3 separate regions of the Homo sapiens genome follow, and regions 1 and 3 are each linked to region 2. The links are contacts of gene promoters, found by promoter capture Hi-C in human tissues and cell types (Jung and others, 2019). All regions are on one chromosome and are shown on one strand. Each heading gives the region's core, a stretch centred on a gene start or on the middle of the fragment in contact. The rest is flanking DNA. Distances are from core to core; before and after follow the strand shown.

Evidence for each region. The method cuts DNA at HindIII sites, captures the fragments that hold promoters and counts their contacts. A contact is called where the count stands out against the background at its distance.
Region 1: a contact is called between a fragment that was not itself captured here and the fragment with the promoter of CACNA1S in region 2, in 1 of the 25 tissues and cell types used here (heart right ventricle).
Region 3: the fragment with the promoter of CAMSAP2 here is called in contact with the fragment with the promoter of CACNA1S in region 2 in 1 of the 25 tissues and cell types used here (thymus).

The regions. Positions count from the first base shown.
Region 1 is chr1:200,676,794-200,680,326 of GRCh38, reverse strand. The region is part of intron 1 of DDX59-AS1 (DDX59 antisense RNA 1); the gene reads right to left. Among named protein-coding and RNA genes, the nearest start is that of DDX59, 8.7 kb to the right of the region's middle. The HindIII fragment of the contact is 3,264 bases long and covers 175-3,438 here.
Region 2 is chr1:201,110,586-201,113,962 of GRCh38, reverse strand. It overlaps CACNA1S (calcium voltage-gated channel subunit alpha1 S), which reads left to right and starts at 1,537. Exons shown (of 44, transcript NM_000069.3): 1 at 1,537-1,775. The coding sequence starts at 1,624. It overlaps ASCL5 (achaete-scute family bHLH transcription factor 5), which reads left to right. Exons shown (of 2, transcript NM_001270601.2): 2 at 1-20. The HindIII fragment of the contact is 14,734 bases long and covers 1-3,377 here.
Region 3 is chr1:200,736,738-200,740,144 of GRCh38, reverse strand. CAMSAP2 (calmodulin regulated spectrin associated protein family member 2) reads right to left here and starts at 1,252. Exons shown (of 17, transcript NM_203459.4): 1 at 179-1,252. The coding sequence starts at 317. RefSeq lists silencers at 443-512, 543-902 and an enhancer at 1,543-1,622. The HindIII fragment of the contact is 12,514 bases long and covers 1-3,407 here.

The DNA.
Region 1 (3,533 bases), core at 557-3,056, 430 kb after region 2:
TCATTTGTAAAATGGGGGCTCTTTCATTTATTCAACAAATATTTAAGTGTCTACTGTGCACTATTAGACACACTTCTCCTTGAAAGCATAGTTCTTGGGGCTGAGATTAGAGCCAAATGGCCAGATATGATGGCTCATGCCTATAATCCCAGCATTTTGGGAGGCCGAGGCAGGAGAATTGCTTGAGGCCAGGAGTTCGAAACCAGCCTTGCCAACTTAGTGAGAACCTCACATCTCTATTTTTAAAATGTTAAAAAGTATTTTTTAAAAAACATATTAGAGCCAAAAACAAGAAAAACTTTGTTCCTTCATGGAGCTCACAATAGTTATATGTACCTTCCTTTTAGATTGTTATGAGGATTACACGAAATTTTAATTTCCTAAATGCTAAGATGTACACTTTTTTACATTTTACAGCTCTGAAATTGAGATTCATTTTACAATCAATGGCATTTTACAGTTAATTGGCAGGGTGTTTTTCTTTTTTAGTGTTATATAGAGTAATGGTGTCACTTATAATCAATGGGGTTTCAGATTCCATAAAATATGATCATACTTATAAAATCTTAATTAAGTATCTGGAAGGCTATACACTGCAGCACTTGTAATAGCAAATAACTGGAAACAGCTCAAATGGTTATCTGCGAGAGACTGGAGCTATAGTGCACCCAATGGAGAAGTGGAAAGGAATGAAGAATATTTTTATACACTGCCATGAAGCAATCAATCTCCAGGATATGTTGTCAGCTGAAAAGAAGGTGGAAAAAGTGTCTACAGTATGCTTCTGTTTATCTAAAAGGTGTATATATATATGCACAGATATAAAATACTTGCTTATATTTTCAAAACTGGAAGGATAGACAAAACAATTTTTGAATTAAAAAAATTAAGTAACCTATGGGAGAGGGAAGGAATAGGGTGGAAGGAATAAAAGCTAAAGTTTTCAGAATATACATAGTTTTGTAGATTTGATTTCAAACCCTGTAAATGTATTGTGTTTTTGTTTTTGTTTTTTTAGAGATAGGACTAGGTATGTTGCCCAAACAGGAGTGCAGATCATTCACAGGTATGATCATAGCACCCTGTAGCGTCACACTCCGGGGCTTCAGTGATTCTCCCGACTCAGCCTCCCAAGTATCTGAGACAGGTTTATAAAATTATAAAACAATGTTAAATCAAAATGGAAAAGAAAATCAATTCATGAAAAGCAAAAGCAAAAGGAAACAAATAGATCCACCCTTTGAATTGACTTAGTGGCTTAACCATACAGAAAGGATTATTTCACATGGTTTTAAAACACAATAATTTGACTATGTATCCTTACTAGAATATATCTGGAATTTTTAAAAAGTCAAAGACATTTTAAACTATTTTCAGTAATTATATGGTTAGTAATAATTTTGGTATTATTATTCTGAAGCCATTTTATATGTAACAAATAAAATTATATTAAATTTTTAAAATTTATTTATTTATTTATTTTGAGATGGAGTCTTGCTCTGTTGCCCAGGCTAGAGTGCACTGGTGTGATCTCGGCTCACTGCAACATCCACCTCCTGGGTTCAAGTGATTCTCCTGCCTCAGCCTCCTGAGTAGCTGGGACTATAGGCATGCACCACCACGCCTGGCTAATTTTTGTATTTTTAGTAGAGATGGGGTTTCGACATGTTGGCCAGGCTGGTCTCGAACTTCTGATCTCAGGTGATCCATCCACCTCCGCCTCCCAAAGTGCTGGGATTACAGGTGTGAGCCACCACTCCTGGCCATTAATATACTTAGAAACTAAAATTTTCAGTGTAAAAGTGATATCAAAATAAAATTTAAAACTTTTTAATTAAAAACCTTTTAACTTTTTAAAGTTAAATAAAAACCTTGTAATCCTAAATTTGAATAAAATGAACTTACGATTTTTTTCTCCTAAAAAAAAAAAAAAAAGAATGTCTGAGCTCTGTCCACTAAAAAGGCTTAGAAACCATAACCAATTTAGTAGCAATTAGCATCTCTCATGCCTAGGCTGTGGCCTATAAATACCATTTTCTGTCAAAGGGAATCAGAAACCCAGGCTCCTGATAGAAATGGCTGATTCTCAGTCTGGGACAAAAATATGTAAGATGGGCCAGGCGTGGTGGCTCACGCCTGTAATCCCAGCACTTTGGGAGGCCGAGGTGGGTGGATTATGTGAGGTCAGGAGTTCGAGACCAGCCTGGCCAACACGTCGAAATACCGTCTCTACTAAAAATACAAAAATTAGCCGGGCATGGTGGCATGTGCCTGTAGTCCCAGCTACTCAGGAGGCTGAGGCAGGAGAATCGCTTCAACCTGGGAAGTGGAGGTTGCAATGAGCCAAGATCCCACCACTGCACTCCAGCCTGGGCGACAGAGCGAGACTCCAACTCAAAAAAAAAAGTAAGATGAGCTGGGAACAAGCTCCATCACACCAGAAAGCAAGGAAACTTTCAAAGACTACTGGGTTTTATGTGTCAAAAAGACCCTAAAGCCACCTTGAAGAGGTTCCCACTGTCAAAGATGGGACAATTTAAGCTTCACAAAGAATAGTAAGTGCAATTAACTGAAATGCATCAAATATGTTAAACATTCTTGAGTCTGGCCTCACACAGTAACTCACACCTGTAATCTCAGCACTTCGGGAGGCACAGGCAGGAAGATCACTTGAGTCTAGGAGATGGAGACCAGCCTGGGCAACATAGTGAGAAACACATCTCCACAAAAAATTTTTTAAAAAATTAGCTGGGCATGGTACTGTGCCTATAGTCCCAGCTACTCAGGAGGATCGCTTGAGTCAGGGAGGTCAAGTCTGCAGTGACCCTAAGTCATGCCACGGCATTCCAGCTGGACAACAGAGCAAGATCCTGTCTCAAAAAATAAATTAAATAAAATAAATCCTTGAGTCTGCCAGGCGCGGTGGCTCACGTCTGTAATTCCAGCAATTTGGGAGGCTGAGACGGGCGAATCACCTGAGGTCAGGAGTTCAAGACCAGCCTGGCCAACATGCTGAAACTCCATCTCTATAAAAATACAAAAATTAGCTGGGCATGATGGCAGATGCCTGTAATCCCAGCTACTCAGGAGGCTGAGGGGGGAGAACCGCTTGAACCCGGGAGGCAGAGGCTGCAGTGGGCCGAGATCGTGCCATTGCACTCCAGCCTGGGTGACAGAGTGAAACTCTGTCTCAAAAAAAAGAAAAAAAAAATCCTTGAGTCCATAGTGATTAAGGAAAAAAAAAAACACACACGCTCATAGGTCACCTTTGGAAGATGCCAGAGGATCAACTCCTTAGCCCATGGTTACAAAACAACACTCTTAATCAGTACAGCCATCTGTGCAGTGCTGGAACATTTCTGATTTCAGTAAAATATCTAAGGCTCGTTGCAGTGCTGAAATAAATCCTGAAAGTACACAATATAAGTGGGATAAGATGCAAAAGGAAGACAGAAGATGACAGACATGTTGGGAGAGAAATTAATAGACTAATGGTCCCAGTGTGATTGAAAATGATCATGACGGGAGAAGTT
Region 2 (3,377 bases), core at 288-2,787:
GTTGAATTTTCTCATTCCTAGATCATTGTCTACCCTCACCCTTCCTGGTGCCCCTTTCTTATTCTCACTCCCAGCCCAGAGTACTTGCTGGGAGGATATGTGGGGTTCGCTGTTAGCTCAGCACATTTAAGATTCAGTGTTGTTAGCTCAGGCGTTCAATGAATTTTTTTTTTTTTTTTTTTTTTTTTGAGACAGGTTTTGCTCTGTTGCCCAGACTGGAGTGCAGTGATTCAATCCCTGCTCACTGCAACCTCCTTCTCCTGGGTTTGAGCAATTCTCCTGCCTCAGCCTCCAGAGTAGCTGGGATTATAGGTGCACACCACCACGCCCGCTAATCTTTGGTATTTTTAGTAGAATGCGGGTTTCACCATGTTGGCCATGCTGGTCTCGAATTCCTCACCTCAAGTTATCTACCTACCTTGGTTTCCCAAAGTGCTGGGATTACCGTGGCTATCCTCAATGAACTTTTCTTTTTGAGACAAGGTCTCACTCTGTCTCACTCTGTCATCCAGGCTGGAGTGCAGTGGCCAGATCTTGGCTCATTGCAGCCTCAACCTCCCAGGCTCAACTGATCCTCCCACCTTGGCCCCCCTAGTAGCTGGGACTACAAACACACACCACCATACCCTGCTAATTTTTGTATTTTTTGTAGAGACAGAGTTTCACTACGTTGCCCCGACTGGTCTTGAAGTCCTGAGCTCAAGCCATTCTCCCACCTCAGCCTCCCAAAGTGTTGGGATTACAGGCGTGAGCCACCATGCCTGGCCTCAGTGAACATTTACAGGGAGCATAGTACATAGGGGGACTGTGCAGAGAAGGGGCCAGAGTCCCAGAGATAATGCACACAACCTTTACACCTGTAGGGATGGGAGGAGATGGGGAAGAAAGATACACAGCAGATGCTCCACAGTGAGGCAGGTGCTATGCCAGAGGTGTGCACACTCAGGGTTGTTCTGGGAGCCTTCTAGCCCACTGGAGAGGGGTTTACTGTTTCTCTGACATGGGATTGCTTGTGGGGGTGGGTTGAGGGTATGCTTGGGGAGTTTTGGCTGATGGTGCAGATACTGAGATGGGTAGGGGCTGCTGTGGAGCTGTCCTGACTTAGGCTGCCCAGTGCCTTCTCCAGACAATGTCATGGGGCTGAGGAGGGGTAAGCCTAATTTTGGCATGAGGGGGCCACTCTGCAGTTTGAGGTTCCATATCCAAGGCTACCTATTCCTGACCTCTGTTGCCCCAGGCTTGAAACCTTCCATCCTGTCTCCCTCTCCCACTGCCCCTGCCCCATCCCAGGCCTGTGTGTAAGTTCTTCCCCCGACCCACCCCACCCTCCTCAGGGGACAGATTGGGAAGTCACTGGCTGGGCTGGGTGGAATGACAGCTGCCTGGCCTCAGAAGCTCAGGCCCGGCAGCGGGGAGCCGAGTGGAGGCTAATTTTACTTGCTGGGAGCGAGGAGAGTAATCCTCCTGCCCCCACTCCTGCCCCCGCCCCCTGGCTGGCTCAGCAGGGCAGGCTCAGCCGACAGCCTCAGCCAGCCTAGTCCCCAAGGCGGGGGCATTGGGGACACAGGGAAGGGAAAGCACTGGGGTGGGGGAGCAGGAGAAAGCCAGATTCCCAGGGAAGCCATGGAGCCATCCTCACCCCAGGATGAAGGCCTGAGGAAGAAACAGCCCAAGAAGCCAGTTCCTGAGATTCTGCCAAGGCCACCCCGGGCCTTGTTCTGCCTGACCCTGGAGAACCCCCTGAGGAAGGCCTGCATCAGCATTGTAGAATGGAAGTATCCTTCAGGGCCCGGGCCGTGGGGGGGGGTGTGCGTCATGAGGGAGGGATTCGGGGTGATCACAGAGCACAAACTTCCTACAGGAGGGCCAGGGAGGCCTGGCACTTAGACATGGGGTGAACTCACAGAATTGAGTGAGGAGCTGGGGGAAGGAGCCCTCGGCTAAGCAGGAGAGGAGGAGGAGGAAGAGGAGGAAGACGAGGAGGGTGGGGGAGGAGGAGGAAGAGGAGGAGGGTGGGGGAGGAGGAGGAAGAGGAGGAGGAGGAAGAGGAAGAGAAGGAGGACTTGGTGGGGCTTCCTGGGCCTGAGTGGGCCACCCAAGTCCTGGATGACAACCAGAGATGCCTACTGACCACCTATGGGTGGGGCCTGTTTCATGGGGACTGTTCCCATGTGTGCCCAAATCCACATTATCATGGGGTGCCACTAGGTTTTTGAAGCACCAGCCTCATTTTAGAATAGGATAGGGACCAAAAAAAGATGCGATGGCCTCTTTGAGAAAACTCTCCCTTGTTTGGGTTGGGTGGGGGGTGACAGTGGACAGAGGTGAGCTGAAGGAAGGCTTCCTCTGGGGGCAGGTCCCAGCTGAGGACAGAGCCAAGGGGAGAAATGGATCTGAAAGACACCTGGTCTCAGTGGCTCCAAGACACAGGCCAAACAAGCCTGGTTGTTCTAGCTCAGACGTGCCACCCTGGGGACAGGGACTTTGAAACTCATGCTATGTTTGCATTTGCTCTGGTGGGGAGAATGATGAAAATATCTGGGTTATTTGGGGAAGGGAGGAAGGAGTGACAGAGAGAAGGGGAGGGCTGTGTCAAGTGGGTTCTGAGAGCGAGGGTGGGGCATATTTGAAATATTTCTGAAGAGTTCTGGAAGGCTGGGCTCCTACCAGCTGTTCCCTAGAAGGAAGGAGAATGAGGGATAACTGGAAGGACAAGAGAAACGTGGGGCAAGTAGAGATAGTTTGGGGTCAGGGTCAGCCCTGTTCCCCTGACCCGCTCTCGGCCAGGCGGTATATCGCCCACATCAAACCCTCCTAGGCCCTCCCTCCTTGCCTCTCTTCTGCAATCAGGTTTACTCTGTGGGTTCTCCCTCTCCTCCATCCTCTGCTCCTCTGCGCCCTGCCCCTGTGGCCCTCCTCTTTTCTCAAACACTGGAGGTTACTGGGAAGAGAATGGGATTTTTCTGTCAAGCCCAACTACGTAATATGCCTCCCCATCCACCCCCAAACAACTCCCTCGCTTCCTCCCTTGCTTTCTCTAGCTCTTTCCAGACTTGCTGCCTAATGGGCCAGAAAGTCGAGAAAGCCATGGGCCTGGGGTACCCTCTGGAAATGGCTGTGGCGGGGTGGGTGTGTCTGGGAGGGGTGAGGTGTGATGGGTGTGAGCACGTGCACACCAGCATGTGCACATGGCTCTGGAAATTCAGCATTCATCTCTCCATCTCTCCTTCCCAGTCCTACTCAGTGAGTTCTCAACCTTACCCTGCATCAACCCTTACCCTCCCATGCCATTTATCTGGGTAAGCCTCTGTGGATTGGCCAGAATCTGCCAAAGTCATGGCTCCTTGGGAGCAGGCAAGGGCATGGACAGGCGCTGA
Region 3 (3,407 bases), core at 3-2,502, 370 kb after region 2:
GAAGACCAAACCTGCTTTCCTTATTTCTCCTTTCTTTCTCTTCCTAGCCTCCCATCATCTCCCTTAACCTGTACGAGAAGACAGGCACGGGGAGGGAGGGATTCGAGAATCGGGAACAAAAACCGAGATGTGGACCACATCAGGAGGAAGAGGGGAGGGAAAGGGTGACACCACTAACCTGTCCCAAAGGCTTTGGCCACCAGCCAGGCCAGATTGCAGGCGATTTTGGCCCTGGAGAAATCATAGTGGTCAAAAGGCTTGATGGCTGGAACAATGAACGTCTTTCTCATCTCCCTGGGGTCTGCAGCATCCCCCATCTTTCACCGCGGCTCCTCGGGATGTCCCGGCCCTAACCTTCACATGGCGTGGCCTCGCCACCACGGGGGTCGGGAGGGAGGGAGAAGCAAGCTCAAACCATCGGGGCCCGGGCGATGTCCGCCCGGGCGCCGACGGAGGAGAAGCTCAGCTGTCCGCGCCGCGCGCCTGCCGCCTCCCGCGGGAGCCGCCGCCGCCGCCGCCGCCGCTCCCGGGCATAGGAATGTGGCGGCGCCGTCTCCGTCCGTCCGTCCGCGCGAGGTCCGCCCCGTGCCCGCGCCCCTCCGAGCCACCCGCCCCGCGAGCCCGCGTGTGAGCGAGGCCGCCTCCCCTTTGTCTCGGTTTAGTCACACGGGCTTGGGGGAGGGTGGAGGCTGGAAGGGCCCGGAATTTTAAGGGAGGGGGGATGGGGGGAGCCTTCAACAATCACGTTGTGGAAAATGTCCCCGCCATCGCGATGCCCGCACGCCCTCGCCTCCCTCTCCCCTTCCCTCGGAGCGGGGAGACCCCTCAGGCCCCGGGTGGGCGGAGGGACGAGCAGGACGAGGGGGAAGCGCGGGGCGAGCTGGCCCACCCAGCGCAGCCCGGCCCCTGCCCGCCGGAGACGCAGCAGCGGAAAACGTCAAAATCACTGCGGCTCACAGGCCGCCGCCGGCCCGTCCCCTCCTCTGTGCTCCCTCCCGTCGCCGTCTCCTCCTTCCCCTGCCGCCGTCGCCGCTGCCGTCTCCCGGGTCTTCCTCCCTTGCTGACGGCGAAGGTGGTGGCCGGGGAGAGGCCGCGAATCCCAAGCTCTCAGTTCCTGTCTTATCAGTAATGTCCTTGTAATTTTTTCCTGCCCCCCTTTCTGCAGCTCGCTGGATCGTTCCCCCTCAGCCGCCGCCGCCGCCGCTGCGGTTTTCCGGCTGCGGCACTGGATGAAGGAGCAGATGCGGAGACTGAGCATGCGCCTTCGCGCGGCTCCGACCCACCCCCCCCAACCCCCGCCCCCGCCCCCGCCCCCTCCCCGCTTCCCTCCCGTCTCCGGCCCACTGAGCATGCCCAGCCTCGCTCCCCGCCCGCGCCCGGGATTCGGGGCGGCTGCCTTTTAATCATCGCTCTGGAGTACTCGCTTCAGTGGACATCCTCCACGTCCCTGGCTTTTGGCTGCTGCTGCCTGCACTGCTGAGAGAGGAAAAGGAAGGGAGGGAGGAGGGAGAGGCCTGGCAATAGCTTTCGTATTCTACTTACACAGTGCTTCATCGAAAAGAGTTGATATTTACTTAAAATGTTCATTATGTGACACACACTTTGCAGCGAACTTGACCTGCACTATCTCATTTAGCCCTCGCAATAATCCTGAGAGGTAGATGTCATTGCTGATTGTCCACGAAAGAGAGGTGGAGTTGATTAGGTCATACATGGAACTTAACCAGGATTGAGGATCTGTGGGGGCTCCAAACCTGTGTTAATTTCATGATATCGAGATATTTTCTTAACTCAGTGCTCTCCACTTAAATTTTATCTCTGAGAGGGCACACGTCCAACAATGCCTCCCCATTCTCTCAGAAAAGAGCATAAATTCTTTCACAAAACAAGCTAATGCCCTTTGTGATCTGGCATCTACAGGCCTTTATAGCTTCATTTTGTCAGAACTGCTCTCTATTTTCTTCAATGAGCATGCCTTCTCAGATCTCTACCTCCTTGCTCAGGGTGGTTCCTCTGTCCACCCAGCTTACTCCTACTGCACCTTCAAACTCCACAGTAGTCACTTCCTCCATGAAGCCTTCCCTGACAGCTGCTGACAACTTTCCAGTCAGGGCTGTCACACAGGTGCCTCCCCTGTTGTTCCCGGAGCACCCTGTTCTTATTTCTGTCGTAGCATCTGTCACATCGTGTGGCAATAATCAGTTACTTGTCGGTTTTTCCCATTGATGACATGATGACAGGGTATATCTCCAGCAGCTATACGGTGCCCAGCCCCATAGTATAATTGCTCAATTAATGGACTACATGTGAATATTATCAAAGTTAACACATACTGAGCTTACTTAAATCACTAGCTCCTCACGTCTCATTTTAATACATTATCTAATTTTATTTTTAAGTGATTGTTGTTGTTATTATTATTATTATTGAGACGGAGTCTTGTTAAGTCGCCCAGGCTGGAGAGTGGTGGCAAGATCTCAGCTCAGTGCAATCTCCACCTTTAGGGCTCAAGCGATTCTCCTGCCTCAGCCTCCTGAGTAGCTGGGACTACAGGCGCGCACCACCACGCCCAGCTGATTTTTTGTGTATTTAGTAGAGATGGGGTTTCACCATGTTGACCAGGCTGCTCTCGAACTCCTGACCTCAGGTGATCCGCCAACCTCAGCCTTCCAAAGCGCTGGGATTACAGATGTGAGCCACTGCGCCCAGCCTATTATTATTATTTTTTGAGACAGGGTCTTGCTTTGTTGCCCTGGCTGGAATACAATGGCAAAATCACAGCTCACTGCAGTCTCAACCTCCCAGGCTCAAGCAATCCTCCCATCTCAGACTCCCATATAGCTGGGATTACAGGCACACATCACCACACCCAGCTAATTTTGTTTATTTTTTGTAGAGATGAGGTCTCCCTATGTTGCCCAGGCTAGTCTCAAACTCCTGGACTCAAGGGATCCTCCCACCTCAGCCTCCCAAAGCGCTAGCATTATCTAATTTTAATCATTATAAAATCCTGTATTATCTTCATTATACAGATGAGAAAACTAAGGCTCAGAAAAAAAAATTAATTACTCTTATTCTGCACAACTAGTAAAGGCAGAGGGCAGCTCCATCAAAAAGCAGGTCCCTTTGTTTCTGTTTAATCCCTGTAAACACTCCTCCTTAAACCTAGTAGGACACAACAGATGAGGCTTGCTAACAATGTGGGATATGAAAAGAATTTGAAAATAATAATATGCCAGAGGGTGGTTGATGTAATTTTTCCAATAATTTAATTAATATTAATAGGGTTTTTCTCATGGGCAAGGAAGGCCCTTTGCTGTATCACATGGAGGTTAATAAAATTAACAGATAGATAACAACTCACAAAGCATGTTCATATGATAACTAATTTCCATATCTATTTTATG